7 separate regions of the Homo sapiens genome follow, and regions 1, 2, 3, 4, 5 and 7 are each linked to region 6. Evidence: promoter capture Hi-C in 16 types of primary human blood cells and fetal thymus (Javierre and others, 2016). All regions are on one chromosome and are shown on one strand. Each heading gives the region's core, a stretch centred on a gene start or on the middle of the fragment in contact. The rest is flanking DNA. Distances are from core to core; before and after follow the strand shown. Region 1 overlaps SCUBE1 (signal peptide, CUB domain and EGF like domain containing 1). Region 2 overlaps LINC00229 (long intergenic non-protein coding RNA 229). Region 3 has its middle 6.4 kb from the start of LINC00207. Region 4 has its middle 26 kb from the start of SCUBE1. Region 5 has its middle 10 kb from the start of LINC00207. Region 6 holds the start of PNPLA5 (patatin like domain 5, triacylglycerol lipase). Region 7 overlaps SCUBE1 (signal peptide, CUB domain and EGF like domain containing 1).

Region 1 (2,874 bases), core at 222-2,721, 640 kb before region 6:
CAGCCTGTCCAGTGCCTCAGCTAAGCTTCTCCAGAGACTAGAAGCCATCTCTGTAAATGAGAAACTGAAGCTCAGATGTGAGCTGGCCCTGGGGTGCTGGTGGAGCTAGTGACTGGGGAAGCCAGGACTGAACCCCGGTCTGACTCTAGAATCTGGCTCAGGATAACCAGAAAGGATCACCGTGTGCTTGACTGGAGTGAAGCTCCAACCACGGATTTCTCTGCTCTAAGAACAAATGCACGGTCCTTACAGCAATGACACAGCCTGGCTGAGCAACCTGAAACCACCCACCTTCCTTGGGTCAGACCAGGAAATCTCGCCTCAGGAAGCTGGGAGCTGCTGGGAGCTGCTGGGAGCTGCCTGCTACTCCTCAGTCAAGTCAGGGCTAACCTTGGCCTGCAGTCACCACCTGGCCCGCCCTTAGCTGGATCCAACTAGAGAGAGGCAAGGGTGGCTTGGATGGGGAGGGCTGCAGGAGGAGCAGGCCGTTGCCCCCCAGGTAGGTGGGGTGAGAGGGAGCCAGCGGGCAGGGTGGCAGAGGGGCCCGGTCGGGCCTGTTTTTACACTTGGGCTCCTCCTGAGAATGCAGGTGAAGAGGGTGCCCTGTTCTTGGGCACCTTCCATTACAGCTCCAGTGGACATCAGTATTACCATGTGGGCCTGCAGGGCCGGGGGGTCAGGACTGGATTAGCAAAAATGGCAGGAGGTCACAGAGGGCACTGAGGTTGCATCTCGAAGGGCTTTGGGGCCCACTTAGACCAGCGGCCAAGAAACCTAGGGGAGGATTAAGGCAGGGCTGGAGCCTATTCAGATTTGTGCCAAAGAGGGCTCTGGCCGTGGCCTCACAGCTGGTGGGGCTGGGAGACAGGGAGGCTGGGCCAGAATCTAGGAGAGAGGAAACAGGGCAGGCAGTGAGATGTGGTCTTGGATGTTTAAACATTAGATGAGAGTTGAGGACCAAAAGGAGCAGATGGGGGTCAAGTGTGCCCCACCTCCATTGGGATGGAGTACAGTGGGAGGGAAGCTGGGGGGCGAGGGGTAGGGCCACCCAAGAGTGCCAGGCCCAACGCACAAGGTGGCCTGGGTGGGCCACAGCCCCTCTAGGCTTCAGCCTCCCATCTGGGCCAGGCAATGCCCCGAGCCCTCGTCTTTTCTCTACTAAGCCCTGCCTGGCACTGCGACTCCACCCACACTCCAGCCCTCCGCACAGCGGAGTCGCCATCACCTACTTCCCCCTACAAGCCCCAGCTGTGAGTGTGAGACAGTGAGGGACTCAACTGAGGGCAGGGCCCAGGACTCAACCTGGCTGGGGGCCCCAGCTGACCAGACACCAGCCATATTTGGAGCCAGTCCAGTGACTGAGGTGTAGCCTGACCACCTGATCCTTCTCTAACAGGAGCCCAGTCCCTGGAGCTCAGTGGGCAGGGAGGCCACGACTTGAGAGGGGCTTGCCCCCGCTTTCCTTCAGCCAGGCCACCTGATGAGCACTGGGCCTGGGGAGCGGCCCTGTGATATCACCTCCCTCACCAGCACTCAGACCTGCCTGAGTCCCTTCCCACTTCCAAGCACGTCCAGGCTGCAGGGCCTGCCCTCTCTCTGAGCTGGATACCTGCCTGCCTGGGCACTGAGGCCCCATCCATCCCCGGGCACCTCCTCCAGGAAGCCTTCATTCATGTGCTGAGCCAACTAGCCTCACCCATGCTCCCGCTCTGGGCAAGGCCCTGTGCTGTGCCCTGAGGGGGGGCACCAAGCTGGAAAAGACCTAGCTTCTGCCCCCAGTCAGGGGGTGCTGGTGGAGGAAGGGTGAGTGGTGGGACAGGGGAGGAAGGACAAGCAAAAGGCAGCCTTTGTCAGGTAGAACCACCCAAGATGGCACCTGGGTAGAGAGAAGAGGATGTGACCCCTGGAGGCAGGGAGTCCAGGAAAGGCTGAGCATGCAGGGCCAGAGGAACAGGCAGAGGGTGGCTTCCAGGAGTGGGTGAATGTGCGGGGTGGGGACTGGGACATAGATTGGTGAAATCAGGGACACCCGGGACCCTGGAGATGGTCGCTGCAGAAGAGGAGGTACGGGCGGGGTGGAGGGGAGCTGGGGTGGACGGGAGCTGGGGTGGAGGGGAGCTAGCGGGGAGAAGCAGGAATGCACATGTCCCGATGAGAAGTGACATTGGCCATGCCGCTCAGGGTGGCTGTGCACTTAAATGATGCTGGGGACAGTGTGGGACACAGTGTGTGCCCCCTAAGTGTCAGCCACCATTTCCACAGTGGCCTCCACTCTCCTCGGTCTTCCCTGGCCTCCCAGTTCTCCAGCCTCCCTGCCTGCTTTTCTCAGGATGAGCAGCCCCTTACCAAGCTCTGGCCTGTGTGCTGGGCCCTTCCATCCTTTCTTTCCCTTCCAGCTCCTTTGAGCCTGGCAGGGTGAAGCAGGTCATGGCCATTTGGGGGACGGGAAACCCGGGGCTCAGAGGGGTGAGGCTGTAGCCCCGTGAGCTGCAGTGGGAAAGCTCCTCTCTTCTCCCCCTGCCAGCAGGACAGTGGGCCCTGAGTGCAGCCACGCGGCCCAGAGGGCTTGGCTGGGGGTGGCCAGGACATAGATGGCGGGATGGCTGGGGAGACAGGTCTAGGGGCAGAAGGGCGGGGAAAAGCCAGGGGAAGCCTGGGACTCCACCTGGCCCTGCCTGCTCACCTGCAGATCTGTCCCTGGCGGCTTCCCTTTCTGGTGCTTTGCACCTCAGTGCCCCAACTGCGTCACACAGCTGATGCACAGTGAGTGCTTCCTACGTGCCTGGCACCGCGCTAAGCACCTGCTACTTAGTCACTCATTTCATCCTCAAATCGATAGGAAGTACACGCTATCACGATCACCATTTTACAGCT
Region 2 (2,758 bases), core at 215-2,714, 720 kb after region 6:
ACCTGCAGCATTGACATCAGCAAACTGCCAGGGAGGAGAGTGGAGGCTGCAGAACAGTCAGGTGCAGGCAGGGGCCCAGGGAGGAGGCGAGACCTGAGCAGGGGTGGAGCAGAGGGATGGCCGGTGGTGGGGAAGGAGGATGGGGATGGAGGAGGAGGAGGGTCAGACATGGCGCCCAGTGCCTGGCCTGGGCAGCTAAAACGGCAGCCCCAGGGGAGATGGGAGGCTCAGCCTGCGGTGAACTGAGGGGCCCGGGGCTTCCTCGGGGGATGCCAAGGCTGAGGATGCATGGGGGTTGCAGGAGGGCACAGGCAGAGGCTCAGATGAGAGAGTCGGGGTCGTGGAGATACCAGGAGCCATCAGAATTTGAGTTGACCCAGAGAGAGGCACAGAAAGAGCGGAGGCAGCCGGGACAGGCCCCGAACACACACGGCCAAGAGGAGGCCTGGGAGGGGCATTCAGAGGGAAGGGGCCTCAGAAATGGGGCAGAAAGGAAGGTTCTAGACAGCAAAGGGGCACAGGGTCAGGTGCGGCAGGGAAGGGAGGTGTGGGTACAAATGCGGTCCCCTAAACAGGTTGAGATCCTCACCCCCAGCACCTGTGAGTATGACTTTAAAACCTCACCCGACGGAATCCAGGAGGTGGGAGAGTGTTCTGGAAACAGCAACATCCCCCACAAACGAAGCTTCAGTGACTTCCTTGGGGCCCCTAAGTTCTGAAGGCTCTGGATGTCTGAGACTGGGTCCCAGCCACAGCAGCCTCTCCCGATCCTAAGGCACTGCTAGAGGACCCCTTGGTGATGCCCCATTTCCCTTCCCCGCCCGACTTACGCTCCCAGGACCAGCAACAACAGCTAGAGTGAGGTATATTCCTAGAGCTCTGTCGTTTAACCCTCACGGTGGCCGAGTGGGCAGGTGTGATGATTTGCGCATCTCCCAGGGAGGAAACCCACACATATCAGGGGAACCACAACTTCTCCCAGCTCAGAGAGACAGAGCTGAGCCCTCACCTGCTGGCTGTCAGGTCAGGCCAGCCTCCCACTCCATGACACAGAACGGACCTGAGGGGACCCCTCGGTGAGGCAGGCCTGGGCTCCAGTGCCGGCCCTCTCCCGCTGTGTGGCCTCGGGGAAGCCTCTTCCCCTGTCTGAGCCTCTGCATTCTCATCTGTAGAATGGGGATGCTCTGTCCTGCCTTCCAGAGCGTTGCTGATATCAGAATCCAGGTGTGGAACTTGGGCAGCAGAGTAGCGCCGGTGCCCTCCAGGCCAGCCCATTCTGTCCAGGCTCCAGTTCGGCAGTGGACTCCTCCTGCCCTGACCCTCACCCTCCATCCGCCTGTTTCCCGGGGTACGCTAGTCACCACGCTAAGGATGCCCTGGGGCCAGATACCCTTATGCCCCACCTCCAAGCCCACCAGGTGTGCCTGCCAGTGCTTCACCCTCCTGGGGCTCCACAGGCATCTGGCACCTTGAACCCAGCAGGGCCCCTGGAGACAAAACCCTCATCTACCTTTCACTTAAGCAGGGCCAGAGAGAGGCAGCCTCCTTTCCTTTGCTTTTCAACTGCTCCCAAACCAGCCCCGAAGCAGCCTGCCATGAGGCCCAGACAGCCTGTCCCATCCCAGCCCAGGCAGGATTAATATGCATGTATGGTAATCAGCGAAGCCCAGCAATTTGCATAACAATCAGAGGGAGTGTCCCCTCTCCTGGACTGCTTCCAAGGGCAGCTCCCACCCTGGTTCCCCACAAGACAGCAGGGGAGGGTATGATGGGGCCCCTGGACCCCCCAAGTGCTAGACCGGTGGCCTGGCTTTCAGCCCTGGAGGCTTCAGCCTGGAGAGGGCGGGATAGGTGGGGTACGGGGGTCCTTGGGCAGGGGAAGATACCAGTGAGACACTCATCTGACTGTCTCCAGAACTGTTTCCCGCATTCTTGAGGCCATGCTGGGGAAGCAGGAGAGAAACAAGGGTGTGGCCTCTCCTGGGCCTGCGTCCTGGGGAGGTGTGGAGTTGGGGGGCTCCGGGAAGGGACTCTGCTCGCCTCATCGAGGGGGCCTCTCCTGGGCCTGCATCCTGGGGAGGTGTGGAGTTGGGGGCTCTGGGCAGGGACTCTGCTTGCCTCATTGAGGGAGCCTCTCTTGAGCCTGAAAAATTGGGAAGGTGCCAGGACTCCCTTATAAGGTCGTTTGCCCTTAAGGAGATGGAGGAGAGTGTGTTCTGGAAGCAGCACCGTCCCCCATAAATGAAGCTTCTTATGACTCGGCTGCTTGGCCAACCTCACGGAGCCCCTTCCTTGGGCCCCTGGGGACACAGAGATGCCTGGGCATGGCCCCATCCCTTCTTAAGGGCTCGGCAGAGAGCAGCCAGGCCCTGCAGATCACCCTCATGCACGGGCCAGTCCAAGGTTTCCAGCATCTTGGTAGCTCTGCAGGCAGCGCCCTTCCCCGAGGGGGTCTTAGGCTGTCCCTCCGAACAGATCCCCACTTGCAGGAGGCTGGGCTCTGCTCTCCAAATGCTTGTCCATAATAATGAAACCCTTGCACATCTGCCCAGCACCTAGGAGCTGTCCAGAGTACCACCACATCCCGACCCCTATCACCCCGTGACGGCCCCTCAGTGGGCACTGGAACAGTGGAGCTCAAAGAGGAAGGATCTGGTGCCACCACGCCCCACCCCAGATCAGAGGTAGGAAAACCCAGGACTCAAGAGAGCTGGTCCAGGCCCTGCCCACCATGTCCATCACCCAGCCATCCATGGGC
Region 3 (2,813 bases), core at 270-2,769, 680 kb after region 6:
GGTCAGGAGTTCAAGGCCACCCTGGCCAACATGGCAAAATCCCGCCTCTACTAAAAATACAAAAAAATTAGCCATGCATGCTGGTACAAGCCTGTAACCCCAGCTACTTGAGAAGCTAAGGCAGGAGAATCCCTTGAACCTGGGAGGCAGAGGTTGCAGTGAGCCGAGATCACTGGGGGTGGGGAGGAAGAAGAGGAGGAGGATGAAGGAGGAGAAAGAGAAGGAGGGAGAGGAGGACCGGTAGCTGAATGGCATGAAGATGACACCACTGCAGGATGGGCCCCAAGGACCACGCCACAGCGGGGGCAGCCGTCATATTGGTGGGCTTCCTGATGGATGGTTCATGTGGGATGGGATTGTTATGGTGATAGGGCAGGCTGCTGAGCCGGAAGGGGCTTGTGAAGGGAACTGCAAATCGGAAGAGGACGGAGCCCACGGTGGGAGCTGGGTTGAGACACCCATCCTGCCCTCCAGGTCCACAGTGCCCTCCCCAGCCCCTGGGACGTGTAGGGTGCCCCCGCCATAGCGCGACTGCCCATCCCCAGAACTGGGAGAGCCGAGAAGCCCTCTCCCCAAGACAGAGCCCTGCGGTCCCCAGCCACAGGCCCTAGGGAGTTCCAAAAGCCTCCCAGGCAATTTACCAGAGCATGTAGCCAGCTAATAAGGTGACTGGATCCTTTGTTCAAAAGTTATCTTTAGACAAGAGCATTTATCAAGTTTAATTAACGTGTCACGGGCTGCAGTGTGAGCGATGGCTCTGAAAGCAGCCCTGATAATACTAATTTTTCTACATTAATGCCAACTCGGCACTGAGTCCCAAGCAGGAAATAGACCGTCAATGCTAACACCACCGAAAAAATAGAGATTTCCCTCCCTAAATCAAATTAAATGTGTTGTGGATGCCTGAGTGGTGTGTGGGAGGCTAAGGTGGGGAGCCTGGGAGGCTCTGGCTGAGAAGCCAGGGTGCGTTGTAAGCTGCCCTGCATCCTGTGGGCTGGGCACCTCCCACCTAGGTCCCACCTGGAGTGGAATCTTTGAGGCAGGTTGGTGTCCTTTCCCCAATTTTACAGAAATAGATGCTGGGGTTCAGGGAGGCCCTGTGAGTCATCCAGGCCACACGGTTTTATAGAGTCTGGCACCAAGATCTGTTCTTCCTCCATCTCACGAGACCCCCAGGCACATGTAACTGCTCAGTCAGTAAACGCTCGCCCAGCACTTACTGTGAGCAGGCACGATTCTAGGTGCCCAGCACCCAGCAGCAGGCAGAGCAGACAAGAGCAACTTCTCCTGGAGCCAATGTGCTGCTGGGACACAGAGGAGGAGGAGGATGACAAGGAGAAGGGGGATGGGAGAAGGAAGAGGAGGAGGAGAAGAAGAAAGAAGGGAGGAGGAGGAAGAAGAGAGAAGCAGAGGAGGGAAAGGAGGAAGAGGAAGAGGGAAAGGAGGAAGAGGAAGAAGGGAAGGAGGAAGGGGAAAGAAGAGGAGGAGGGGGAGGAGAAAGAGGAGAAAGAAGGAGAGGAAGAGAGGGAGGAGAAAGGGAGAAAGAGGAGGAGGAGGGAGGAAGAGGAACAAGAAGGGAGGAGGAGAAAGAGGAAGAAGAGGAAGAAAAGAGGGAGGAGAGGGAAGAAGAGGAGGAGGAGAAAGAAGGGGAGGAAGAGAAGGAGGAGAAGGGGAGAAAGAGGAGGAGGAGGGAGGAAGAAGGAAGGAGGAAGAGGAGGAGGGGGAAAAAGAGGAGGAGGGAGGAGGAAGAGGAGGAAAGGGAGGAAGAGGAGGAGGAGGAAGAGGAGGAGGGAGGAGGTAGAGGAGGAGGGAGGAGGAAGAGGAAGGAGGAGGAGTAAGAGAAAGAAGGAGGAGAAAGAGAAGGAGGCGGAAGGAAGAGGAAGGAGGAGGAAGAGGAGGAGGCAGAGAAGAAAATTAAGTACTGCACCTGCACGTGTTGCCATGTGCTAAGAAGAGATTAGAACAGGATAACGGTCAGGAGAGATGTGAAGTGCTGAGAGGCCACGGGAGATGGGGTGGCCAGGGAAAGCCCTACAAGGAAGTGGCATTTGGGAAGATGCCCAAATTAGAAGGAGTGGGCACAAGAGTAACTGGATCAATGGCATCACAGGCAGAGGGGACAGCAGGTGCCAAGGCCCTGAGGCAGAAGTGAGCTTGGTGCACTGGATGGACGCCAGGAAGCCACCGTGGCTGGAGCAGAGAGGAGAGAGTCGGTCCCCAGCCCTGGGAAAGGGGAGGCTGTGATGGCACTGGCCTGTGCAGTCAGGGTCCTGTGTGGCCAGGTGTGTGGGAGGAACAGCTCCTCACTGGCCTTGCAGGCATCTGAGGCTCAGCAGGATGCCTGCTTTGGATGAGCAGGGCCATTTTGCCAAGCCCTGAGCAGAAGCGTGTGGGCAGCCAGCTGGGATGGAGACTGAGGGAGCTGTGGGGCAGCCAGGTGCCCGTGTGGCCCAGCTGTGGTCTGCTAGAAAGGAGTGCAAAGCTGGGGGGATCCTCTCTCACTGGGGGTGCAGTCTAGGCCCTAGAAACCCTGAGGCACCAGCCTGAAGACAGAAAATGGGCCAGAACCACTCAGTGAGGTTGTCCAGAACTGAGACCACTTTCCCTGCAGAGCATGTGGGGACCGAACAGGCGATCTCAGAGGGAGCCTGGTCCTCATAGAGGTGGGGAAAATGGGCACCGGATCACACCACGGCACAGAGGGTGGAGCAGCCCAACCTAGCCTGGGATCCTGCTTCCATGGACCAGCCGTGTGACCCTGAGCAAGTCCCTTCCCACCTCTGTGCTTCCACGATCTCATCTACGGAAGGGCG
Region 4 (2,807 bases), core at 254-2,753, 520 kb before region 6:
TATGCCTTACTTTGAACAATGCACCTTTCCCCTCCGATGTGAAATTCCTTCTCTCATTCACGTGCTGAAATCCTACATATTTCCATCCATTTCTGCACTCGCGTCTGGATGGAACTGTCTACTTCTTTTCCAGGGCTAAACTTTAAAAGTTATTGTACTTTCCTAAGATGTTTTAACATCTGGTAAAGCCAGCCCTCCTCCACTACTTTTGTTTTTCCTCAGAATTTCCCTGGCTGGTCTCGCACGTTTATTTTTCCAGATGAAATTTGGTATCATTTCGTCAAGTTCCAAAAAATAAAAGAAAATAAAAACCCTGTTGGTTTAAGGCTTTTCTTACCAGCCAGTGTAGTGTTTTCACAGATTATTGATATTAACCCTTTGCCATTCATTTGGTTGTCAATTTAGTTCCCCTCTACCCCCATTAGTTTTTTATTCTGTGGTATGGGAGATTTGTTTTTTGTTTTTATATAGTCGTCAATCACTTTTGCTTCTCCTCAAAAAAAAAATCTCCTTAATGATTTTAAAGCTCGAAGACTTCCCATTCCTCCTGAGATCTGGTTAATATTCACTTATATTTTTGACCAGCCCTCCTAGGGTTTGCTTTGCTTGATAAATAATTTATTTTTTTCAGCATCTGTGAAAGATATGAAGAAGGCATCCAAGCTGATTTTTTTTTTTTTTTGAGATGGAGTTCTGTTCTTTTTGCCTAGGCTGAGTGCAATGGTGTGATCTTGGCTCACTGCAACCTCCGCCTCCCCGGTTCAAGCGATTCTCCTGCCTCAGCCTCCCAAGTAGCTGGAATTGCAGGCATGCACCACCACGCCTGGCTAATTTTGTATTTTTAGTAGAGACGGGGTTTCTGCATGTTGGTCAGGCTGGTCTTGAACACCTGACCTCAGGTGATCCACCTGCCTCGGCCTCCCAAAGTGGTGGGATTACAGGTGTGAGCCACTGCGCCCGACCCCCAAGCTGCTTTTATATTGGCTACTCCTTCCATTGTTCTTTGCCCACTGAAGACAGCTTGGTCATGTATTAAATTCATGTACATGAGAACATTTCTCTGCTCTCTGGTCAGTTCCATTCATGCCAGCTCTGCTGTTTAATCAGAGACTTAATCATCTATTTGAACATCTGAGAGGGCTGATTGCGCACATTTCTCAAAATATTCTTTGGATTTCTCACCCTTTTATTTCCCAAAATACCCCAGCCTGCATGATTCATTTGGCCCTCGAAGGAACCCTGAGAAGTATTAATTCCACTAGCTGGATGTGCTGGGGTTCAAAAATTGCTAAGGGCCAGATGAGACGACACCGTTATCATAGCTGTGAGAGGGAAAAGTTTGCCTCTGCATCTGAAACTCCCAGAGGAAGGAGGTTGTCTCCATTACTGAGTTTGACAGGAAGAGAAAAAGAGGGGCGTGGTGGATATGCAGTGGTGTCTAATACTCAGCCTCAGATGATCTGTTGTGGGGGCCATCACTTGGCCCTCTTACGTAAAAGCTGCCGCCCACAGTGAGTCAGTGTGGGGGACATCTGGGAAAGAGGCAGGGAGTCCCATCTGGACTGGGGAGTGGGGACCAGGGTGGGATTGGAGATGGGATGAGGGTCTCCTGCCTCCCTGGGGCACCACTGCTCTGTGGATTCTACTTTGTCTCTGTGACCTCAGGTGCTTGGTGTGTCTCTTGGGGGCCTCTTATGTCCGTGCCCATGTCATTAGCGTGTGAGGTGACAGCCCTCTGCCGCCCCAGCTTCTTTTTTGGAGCACGGGTCTCAGATGAGGGGCTGGCTGAGCAGCTGTGGGAGGACCCCTCATTTGCAACTGACATCGATAGGTCAAGCCCAGCAGCCCCTGAATGAGCAGGAAGATTGGTGCAGCTGGGGTCTTCCACAGGCAGGCGATTCCCTCCCTGCTGGGATCGTCAACCAATCTGGGGCCGTAACTCACACGGGGAACCACCCCCAACCCCCAACCACCGTGCTTGGTGTTGGAGGGCCAGAGGGTGTCTCCCAAGTCAAAGACAAAGTCTCCAGGGCAAACAGGAAAAGCCATGGCTACCCCGTCCCCGGGGCCTCACCTGGCAGCCCTGGCTTGCAGGCTCTGTCTAGGATCCGGGAACAGTGTTTATTTCTTCTCTTTATTTTTAGCTTTTATTTTCATGAAACTTATACAGGCAAATAGCTCTACAAGGTTTGTTAAGAGGAACAGCAGTTCCCTGTTCCTGTCCTTCACCCCCTCCTGTCCCCTCCCCAGAGGCAACTATTTCACCTCCTTTAACCAATTATTTTGTTTTTACCCTGTGTCATTTGCCTCTGAGACTGCATCTTTTTTTTTTTTTTTTTGTGACGGAGTCTTTGCTCTGTCGCCCAGACTGGAGTGCAGTGGCATGATCTCGGCTTATTGTAATCTCTTCCTCCTGGGTTCAAGTGATTTTCCTGCCTCAGCCTCTTGAGTAGCTGGGATTACAGGCGCCCGCCACCACACCTGGCTGATTTTTGTATTTTTAGTACAGGTGGGGTTTTGCCATGTTGCTCAGGCTGGTCTTGAACTCCTGACCTCAGGTGATCTGCCTGCCTCAGCCTCCCAAAGTGCTGGGATTACAGGCATGAGCCACTCTGCCTGGCCTCTGAGACTCCATCTTGATTTTTTTTTTTTTTAGTTGTCAGCCTCATTGGTTGACCTCTGTTTCTGGAAGGTGAGGATATCGCTGCCTCCTGACCCCTACTCACTGTGCGCACCTGCCCCCCACCCTCAGACCTGTTTTTAGGACACCAGCATTGTCAGTGGTGAAGGGCATGGAGTTCTAAGCC
Region 5 (2,700 bases), core at 200-2,699, 670 kb after region 6:
ATGTGAGCTTTCTCTTCAACATTAGACTGGAGGGCCTGCCCAGGGAAACTCAGCAGGAAAAAAAATGTTTAAGCTTACAAATGGAAAGAAAGAGATAGACCTGTCTTTATTCACAGATAATATTATATATGTTGGAAATGCTAAGGGATCTTTTAACTGCTTTACTAGAAAGCAAATTTAACAAGGTCACAGGATAAAAAGGCAATAGAGAAAGACACATTTCTATACACTGTAATGACTGATATTAAAAGTGATACCTTTGCAATACCATAAAAAACATCAAATACTTAGGAATACATTTAATAAAATACATGTAAAGCCTCTACACTAAAGGCTATAAAATAATGTGTACAGGCCAGGCACAGTGGCTCATGCCTCTAATACTAATACTTTGGGAGGCGAGGCGGGAGGATCACCTGAGGTCAGGAGTTTGAGACCAGCCTGGCCGACATGATGAAACCCTGTCTCTACTAATAAAAAAATACAAAAATTAGCCAGGTGTGGTGGTGGGTGCCTGTAATCCCAGCTACCCAGGAGGCTGAGGTAGGAGAATAGCTGAAACCCGGGAGGTGGAGGCTGCAGTGAGCAGAGATCATGCCACTGCACTCCAGCCTGGGAGCCAGGCTCCATCTCTAATGATAATAATAATAATAATAGTAATGTGTACTGAGATAAAATAAAGACGAAATAAGCAAACGGGGAGAGATACCATGATCATTGACTGGAAGATTCAATATTTATAAGATAGCAATTTGCCCCAAATTTATCTAATGATTCAATGCAATCCCAATCAAAATCTCGACAAACCAATCTATAGTGGCAAAAAGCAAATCGGTGATTGCCTAGGGGCCAGGGTGGGTTGGGCATTAAGGAAACAGAAGAGTCAGAGGAAAACTCCTGGGGCTGAGGCTCATGTCCATTGTCTTGATTGTGACGATGGCCCACACATGAACACACGCTTCATAACTTACTAAACTGTGTACTTTAAATGTGTGTCATCTATTATATGTCAATTATAGCTCAATGATAATGTTTTTTAAATAATTTAATCTCAGTAGTCATTTTTTTTGTTTTGATTTGTTTTTTTTGTTTTGTTTTGTTTCAGACAGTCTCACTCTGTCACCCAAGCTGGAGGGCAGTGGCACAGTCTCAGCTCACTGCAACCTCTGTCTCCCGGGCTTAAGCAATCCTCCTGCCTCAGCCTTGTGAGTCACTGGGACTACAGGCACGCACCACCACGCCCAGCTAATTTTTTTGTATTTTTGGTAGAGACGGGGTTTCACCATATTGCTCAGGCTGGTCTTGAACTCCTGACCTCAAGTGATCCACCCACCTCGGCCTCCCAAAGTGCTGAGATTACAGGTGTCAGCCACCGCGCCCAGCCCTAGCAGTCATTTTTAAAGTTAAAAGTTGATTCTTTTTTAAAAATAAAGAAAAGAAGTTGAATTGGCTCACAATTCTGCATGGCACCAACATCTGCTTGGCTTCCGTCAAGGACCTCTGGAACTTTGCAGTCATAGCAGAAGGTGAAGGAGAGGCAGGCACCTCACATGGCAAGAGCAGAGCAAAGGAGATGGGGGAGCAGCAACGCACACTTTTCCTTTTTTTTTTTTTTTTTAATTTTTTTTTTTTGGAGATGGAGTCTCACTCTGTTGCCCAGGCTGGAGTGCAGTGGCACGATCTTTGCTCACTGCAACCTCCGCCTCATGGGTCCAAGCGATTCTTCTGCCCCAGCCTCCCGAGTAGCTGGGACTACGGGCACGTGCCACCATGCCCAGCTAATTTTTGTATTTTTTTTTTAGTAGAGACAGGGTTTCACCATATTGGCCAAGCTGATCTCGAACTCTTGACCTCGTGATTCACCCGCCTCGGCCTCCCAAAGTGCTGGGATTACAGGCGTGAGCCACCACGCCAGGCCGCGACACACACTTTTAAACAAGCAGGTCTCATGAGTACGCACTCACTACGCGGAGAACAGCACCAAGCCATAAGGGATCCACCCCCATGATCCAATCACCTCCCATCAGGCCCCACCTGCAACATTGAAGGTAATCAACGTGAGATTTGAGTGGGGACAAATATCCAAACTACATCATTCTGCCCCTGGCGCCCCCAAATCTCATGTCCTTCTCACATTGCAAAATACAATCATACCTTCCCAATAGTCCCCTGAAATCTTAACTTATTCCACCATTAACTCAAAAGCCCCACATCTGGTCTAAAGTCTCACCTGAGACCCACTCCTCAGTACAGTTTCTGTGTTAGACCACTCATGCATTGCTATAAAGAAATACATGAGACTGAATAATTCATAAAGAAAAGATAATTAATTGGCTCATGGTTCTGCAGACTGTACAACCACGGCTTCAACATCTGCTTAGCTTCTGTGAGGGCCTCTGGAATCTTACAAGCATCACAGTTGATTCCAAAACGTATGCAGAAATTGGAAAACATTGAATAGCCAAAAAAAAAAGTTCAAAAAGAAAAATAAGTTTGGAGGACTTTTACGACATAATTTCAAGACTTGCTATAAAGTTATGATAGTGAAGACAGTACAATAATGGCATAAACATAGACAAATAAAAGCACTAGAACAGAATAGAGGCCAGAAGGAAACTCATGTTTATACGGTCAATTGATTTCTTTTTACCTTAGGTGCTAAAGCAAGTTAAGGAAAAGAAAAAACTTTTTAACAAATGG
Region 6 (2,807 bases), core at 247-2,746:
ATCTTTTTTAGACATCCTATTTCATTTCAATACTGGATGGTTCCTTACCTCCTTACTTGGAGATGAGTTCATTATCGATACCGCCTGCCCCCCAGAACCACTGAGCATAGAAGCCCCAGGAAGGCAAGGGTTTCTGTCTGTTTTGCTCCCTGTTACAGTCACAGTGCCTAGAATAGTGACTGGCACATAATAGGTGTTCAATAAATGTCAACCCACCGCCAAAAAGCGGCGGGAGGATGGAGTGGGGTGGAGGCTGGGGCTAGCCAGCTGCCCTCTGGAAAGAGCAGTCCCTGTGGGGGCCCTGACTCAGCAGCCTGACTCTGCCGGGCCCCAGCCAGACCCTTCTGTGTGCAGCAACCTGGAAAGTCTCCAGACCCACCCTGCCGACCCTCTCTGGGCCTCAGTTTCCTCACCTACAAACAGGTCCACCCGCCCTCCCTCCTTCCGCCCCTGCAGAAACGTCTGACGGGGAAGTACCTGGATGTCACTCTGGACTAGATGGAGCCCGCCCACCAGCCAAGCCCTGGGCACCCCCCGCCCCACACCTGGATGAGCTCATCGCAGGTGGCGAAGTCAGTGACCAAGAAGTTGCGTCCGTCAGGCCAGCGGGTCAGCGAAATGCCCAGCCGCTGGGAGGCCAGGACGTGGGCGTCGGGGGGCAGAGCATCCTGCAGCTGCTGCTTGACGTGCTCGATGGGCGCGTAGGCCGGGTGCAGGATGCTTAGGCTCAGCCGCTCCAACTGCCCAACCATGCCCAGGAGGTGGGAGCAGCAGAAGTCTGCAGTGGGGGCAGGGAAAGGGAGACCTCAGCGCCCAGGGATCCTGCCAGTCCCTCCACACCCCCACTGCCCTCCTAGGTGCAGTGGGAGCGGGGTCCTCCCCACTCCAGCTCAGAATTTCTGGGCTCGGCCCCGGATTCAAATGATCCGTTCACCTTTTCACTTTTTGCCCCGCCGACCTGGGAAACAGAGTTTCTGGCTCTGAGCCACGATCCCTCCTCTGCAAATGGGGGTCACCTAGTCCCCAGCACTCGGTGTTCTCATGGGATTAAATGAGGCTGTGCCGGGGGTAGAGGGCGCAGAGCACAGCGCCAGGCACCAGCGTCTCTGGGCTCGATCCGCTTTCATTAAGCTGTCCCCGCCCCTTTTCGCCCCCGCGGTCCGGGACTCACCGACCGACTTGCCGCAGACGATGCTGACTGCGTTGAGCGCCCCAGACGAGGAACCGTAGATGCGGCGGGCGCCCTGGAGGAGGCGCGGGGCTCGCTGGCGCAGGCATTCGGTGGCGCCCACGTGGTGGGCGCCCAGGTAGCCGGCGCCGGAGAAGGACAGGTTCCATCTGCCCTCCTCCTCTAAGAAGCCCATGGCGGGTGGACCGGGCGGGGTGATCGGGACGAGGAAGGGTCACTCCGTGACCCGGGATAGGGCCGGGATGCAGCCTTGGACGGGGCTGGGCCCAAATGTGGGCTCTGGAGGGAGCCGGGCTGGGGCTGGTGCTGGTGCTCCCTGCGCCGCCCCCGGGCTGCGTCACCTGCGCCCCAGCCAATGAAGTCCCCGGGTCGCGATCAGCCCCCACTCCAGTTGTGCGCCAGGTGTGCCCCAGAAGTGCCCGCGCGCTGTGTATACGCTGGCGCCGCCCCCACGCGCCCGCCCCGGATCCGCATCGGGTCATAGATTTCTGGGTGACACGGCAGGGGAGTGGGACCAAATCTTGCCTGATCTCTGGTAGTCTGGGCAGATGTTATTCCAGTCCTCATTACGCAAATGAGGCAACTGAGGCGCAGCCCAGGATGGTGACAGCCAGGAAGTGGCAGAGTCGGACCCAGGACACCTGGTCTTTGGGGTCAAACCAGGCTTAAGTCCGCAGCTGTGCTGGTTCCAGGGAGGGACTTGAGGGAAAGAGAGGTCTCGGGGCCAGCCTCCGCTCCAGCCAGCACCACTGCACCTTCCCCTGGCTCACCCGCTCTCCAAGCCTCACCTACCACTACAGCCTGCTCAAACATCCCACCTCCTCCCTCCTCCCCTAATCAATCCATTGGAAAGTGCTTTATAAACTGCAAAGCTCCAAGAACTTGGGTTTGTAGTGATTAGGGCTGTCTGGGCTCCAATTCTGGCTCCAGAATGTCTTGGCTGGTGACCCTGGATAATTTAACTGATCTGTGCCTCAGTTTTCTCATCCATCAAGTGGGGATAATAACATTACTTACTCCATAGGACCGGTAAGGATTAGAGTTAATGCAAGTAACGTGTTTGGAATAGCGCCCGGCACTGGATAAGCACACAAACAATGGTTACTACGGTGATTGTTTTAATCAAGTGGCGCACAATCAATGGCAACCGCTATGTTATTTATTTATTTATTTAATTTTGAGGCAGAGTCTCACTCTGTCACCCAGGCTGGGGTGCAGTGGCACAATCTCGGCTTACTGCAACCACCACCTCCCAGGTTCAAGCAATTATCCTGCCTCAGCCTCCCAAGTAGCTGGGACTACAGGCACGCACCACCACGCCCAGCTAATTTTTGTTATTTTCGGTAGAGACAGGGTTTCACCATGCTGCTCAGGCTGGTCTCGAACTCCTGGCCTCAGATGATCTGCCCACCTCAGCCTCCCAAAGTGCTGGGATTACAGGCAGGAGCCACTGCGCCCATCCCTGTGTTACTGCTTTAATCACATGGCACATATCAGTGCCTTCTCATGTGAGCTCCTTGAGGGCCAGGTCCTCCATCTGTGCCTGGAAGAAGTGTGGCACAGTGTTTGTGGACTGAATGCTCAGCCCATGGCCTGGGTGGGTCATTTTCGGAGGAAG
Region 7 (2,947 bases), core at 448-2,947, 670 kb before region 6:
TCTTTACCAACAGCTTCCCCGCCCTCTCCAGGTGTCACCTCTTTATCAACAACTTCCCCCCACCCACCCCCCGCCAGGTGTCATCTCTTTACCAACAGCTTCCCTCCCACCCCCACTGCCAGGTGTCACCTCTTTTCCAACAGCTTCCCCCAACACTGCCGTCACCTCTTCTCTAACAGCTTCCCCCCACCCCGCCAGGTGTCACCTCTTTACCAACAGCTTCCCCACCCCGCCAGGTGTCACCTCTTTACCAACAGCTTCCCCACCCTGCCAGGTGTCACCTCTTTACCAACAGCTTCCCCCAACCCCCACCCCCCATCCGCCAGGTGTCACCTCTTCTCCAACAGCTTCCCTCCTCCCCCGCCAGGTATCATTTCTTCTCCTCCGGCTTCCCAGTTTACACCCCTGGCCAACCCTATTGTTTGAGGCTTCGGACTTGTGGCTGCAACTGCCCATCCAACATCTCCATGTGGATGACTTGTGAGCGTCTCAGACTGAACATGTCCAGCCTGCGCACCCCATCCCCGCAGCCCACTCTTCATCAAGTTTCCCTCCCCCCAGCCCACTCTTCCTCAAATCCTTGGGGATTTGGCCGGCGTCAGGAAGCGATACCACCTCTGCCCAATTGGCCAAACCCTTGGAGTCGTCCTTGAAGTCTGTCTCTCCCTAGGAGCCCCCTCCATCTCATGCTCCTCCCCGTCCTTGCTCCGCCCCCGCTACTCAGCCTTCCCGTAAGAGCGCGCATGAGCCTGCGTCCTTGCTCTAAGCATTCCTATGGCTCCCCATCCAACTCAAGAGTGGTGTCTGCCAGGCCCCATCACCTCTGGCCTCACTGTACCTGTGGGCATGTTCACTGGCCCACTGTCCATCTTCCGCACGGGCATGTGAGCTCCACTAGAACTAGGACTGTCTCGTGTGCTGGTTCTGCCTGTCCTGCGTCCAGGCTCTCCCCTCCAGCGCACACCCGCCCGCTGGGGGCCGGCCTCACCTGCTTCCCTGCAGCACGACGCTGCCCTCCTGGGCGGCCCTAGGCCTCACGACATCCCTGCTCTGTCCCCCGACCCTGACTCAGGCTCCCCAACTCCTGGAGCCCTGAGGTCTTAGCTAACGTGACTTCTCCTCCAGGAAGCTTCCCTGAACCACATCCCAGACTAGAGAGGGCCTGTTCTGGTTCCCGTGCCCCCTCGCGCCCCTCGACTGTGGCCTTGCTGTCCTGTCCACTCCTTGTCCCTCCTCAGACTGTGATCACATGCCCGAGGCCCAGCACAGAGGAGTGCTCTTCAAATGACAGTGATGACCATGAGGGCTGCAGTCCTTCTCCCCGGCAGGCCTCTGCATCTCTCTGTCCCCTCCCCAGGTGTCTGTCTCACCTGCGTGCCCACCACTGTTTACCCCGGCTCATGTGCAAGGAAGGACAGAGTCAGCATCTGAGTGGCCATGGGCAAGGACTCACCGCATTTGCTGTCCTGTAGCACCTGGCCTGCGCCACATGCCCCCTGCCCCTCCAGCGCCTTGGCTGGCCTCTGGGCTACCTCGTACTCAGTGCCTGAGACCTGGACATAGAACTGCTGCCGGCCGATGGACTTGCGCAGGGTCTTGATGGCGGCCTGCAGGCTCTGTTCTGCTCGCTTCCGCAAGCAGTCCGCTTCGCATGTGTCTGCAGGGGCAGGAGAGACAGAACATGAATCGCTGGCAACCTTGCTAGCCGCTGCCTTCTTAGCTGAGGGCTCCCCCGTGCCAGGCCCTGCACTGGGCTCGGACCTCCTCAGCACATTCTCACAACAGTCCTGGGGCAAGGGGCCACTGTCATGCCCATCTGACAGATGAGGAGGCTGCGGACCTGGGAGGCAGGGCCTGCCCACGGCCACGCAGCAGATCTGAGTGCAATCCAGGCAGCTGCCACTGCACCACATCACCCCCCAGGGTACGACTCACGGGGCAAGAACGCCTTTCTGTCACTCAAAGACTCTTGGGGACTGCCACTGTCCCCAGGATAGTGTCCAGCTCTCTGGCCTTGAATCCAAGGCCCTTCAAGGTCCAGCCCCGTATGGCCTTGCCAGCCTCATCCCCTCCACTCTGACACTCCCTGTGGATTCCAATGTCTAGCCACCTGGCCCTACTTACTGCTTCCTGGACACCTCCTCCTCTCTCTGACCTCTGTGCCTTTGCCTATTCTATTCCCTCTGCCTGAATGCCATTCCTTGCCACCTTTTCCACCCAGTGAGCTTTGATTCTAAGCTCTCATTCAAATGGCACCTCTTCTGGGAAAGCTTCCTGATATGGTTTCAATATTTGTCTCTTCCAAACCTCATGTTGAAATCTGATCCCTAATGCTGGGGGTGGGGCCTGGTGGGAGGTGTCTGGGTCATGGGGTAGGTCCCTCATGAATGGCCTGGTGTGGTAGTCAGTTCTTGCTGGCTCTACTAGTCGCCACGAGATGTGACTGGTGAAGACATAGGCACCCCCTCCCCTCTCTCTTGCTCCCTTACTCTTGCTATGTGATGCCAGCTGCTCTTCACCTTCCTCCGTGAGCAGAAGCAGCCTAAGGCCTCGCCAGGCAGATGCTGCTGCCGTGTTCTCGGACAGCCTGCAGAGCCGAGAGCCAATAAGCTCTTTTCCTGATAAATTATGCAGCCTCAGGTGTTCCTTTTAGCAACGCAAATAGACTAAAACATTTCCTTTTTTTTTTTTTGAGATAGAGTCTCACTCGTCGCCAGGCTGGAGCACAGTGGCGCGATCTCAGCTCACTGCAATCTCTGCCTCCCAGGTTCAAGCGATTCTCCTGCCTCAGCCTCCTGAGTAGCTGGGATTACAGGTGCCTGCCACCACACCTGGCTAATTTTTGTATTTTTAGTAGAGACAGGGTTTCACCATGTTGGCCAGGCTGGTCTTGAACTCCTGAACTCAAGTGATCCACCCACTTTGGCCCTCCCAGACTGCTGGGATT

The links. The method cuts DNA at HindIII sites, captures the fragments that hold promoters and counts their contacts. A CHiCAGO score of 5 or more calls a contact.
Region 1: a contact is called between a fragment that was not itself captured here and the fragment with the promoter of PNPLA5 in region 6, in 4 of 17 cell types (M1 macrophages, M0 macrophages, endothelial precursors and 1 more). The highest score is 8.3, in M1 macrophages.
Region 2: a contact is called between a fragment that was not itself captured here and the fragment with the promoter of PNPLA5 in region 6, in 4 of 17 cell types (total B cells, M1 macrophages, M0 macrophages and 1 more). The highest score is 6.5, in total B cells.
Region 3: a fragment that was not itself captured here is called in contact with the fragment with the promoter of PNPLA5 in region 6 in 1 of 17 cell types (M2 macrophages); the score reaches 5.7 in M2 macrophages.
Region 4: a contact is called between a fragment that was not itself captured here and the fragment with the promoter of PNPLA5 in region 6, in 1 of 17 cell types (endothelial precursors). The highest score is 5.1, in endothelial precursors.
Region 5: a contact is called between a fragment that was not itself captured here and the fragment with the promoter of PNPLA5 in region 6, in 3 of 17 cell types (total B cells, M0 macrophages and total CD4 T cells). The highest score is 7.2, in total B cells.
Region 7: a fragment that was not itself captured here is called in contact with the fragment with the promoter of PNPLA5 in region 6 in 1 of 17 cell types (endothelial precursors); the score reaches 5.0 in endothelial precursors.

What each region holds. Positions count from the first base shown.
Region 1 is chr22:43,247,233-43,250,106 of GRCh38, forward strand. The region is part of intron 6 of SCUBE1 (signal peptide, CUB domain and EGF like domain containing 1); the gene reads right to left. Among named protein-coding and RNA genes, the nearest start is that of SCUBE1-AS1, 27 kb to the right of the region's middle. RefSeq lists an enhancer at 299-800. The HindIII fragment of the contact is 2,897 bases long and covers 24-2,874 here.
Region 2 is chr22:44,607,139-44,609,896 of GRCh38, forward strand. The region is part of intron 3 of LINC00229 (long intergenic non-protein coding RNA 229); the gene reads right to left. Among named protein-coding and RNA genes, the nearest start is that of LINC00229, 17 kb to the right of the region's middle. RefSeq lists an enhancer at 65-770. The HindIII fragment of the contact is 1,562 bases long and covers 684-2,245 here.
Region 3 is chr22:44,574,308-44,577,120 of GRCh38, forward strand. No RefSeq gene overlaps it. Among named protein-coding and RNA genes, the nearest start is that of LINC00207, 6.4 kb to the left of the region's middle. RefSeq lists an enhancer at 1-445. The HindIII fragment of the contact is 6,735 bases long and covers 1-2,813 here.
Region 4 is chr22:43,368,271-43,371,077 of GRCh38, forward strand. No RefSeq gene overlaps it. Among named protein-coding and RNA genes, the nearest start is that of SCUBE1, 26 kb to the left of the region's middle. RefSeq lists an enhancer at 1,363-1,864. The HindIII fragment of the contact is 4,109 bases long and covers 1-2,807 here.
Region 5 is chr22:44,557,665-44,560,364 of GRCh38, forward strand. No RefSeq gene overlaps it. Among named protein-coding and RNA genes, the nearest start is that of LINC00207, 10 kb to the right of the region's middle. The HindIII fragment of the contact is 2,757 bases long and covers 72-2,700 here.
Region 6 is chr22:43,890,517-43,893,323 of GRCh38, forward strand. PNPLA5 (patatin like domain 5, triacylglycerol lipase) reads right to left here and starts at 1,497. Exons shown (of 9, transcript NM_138814.4): 1 at 1,172-1,497; 2 at 546-778. The coding sequence starts at 1,364. The HindIII fragment of the contact is 5,727 bases long and covers 1-2,807 here.
Region 7 is chr22:43,216,802-43,219,748 of GRCh38, forward strand. It overlaps SCUBE1 (signal peptide, CUB domain and EGF like domain containing 1), which reads right to left. Exons shown (of 22, transcript NM_173050.5): 15 at 1,454-1,657. Among named protein-coding and RNA genes, the nearest start is that of SCUBE1-AS2, 5.6 kb to the left of the region's middle. The HindIII fragment of the contact is 1,141 bases long and covers 1,128-2,268 here.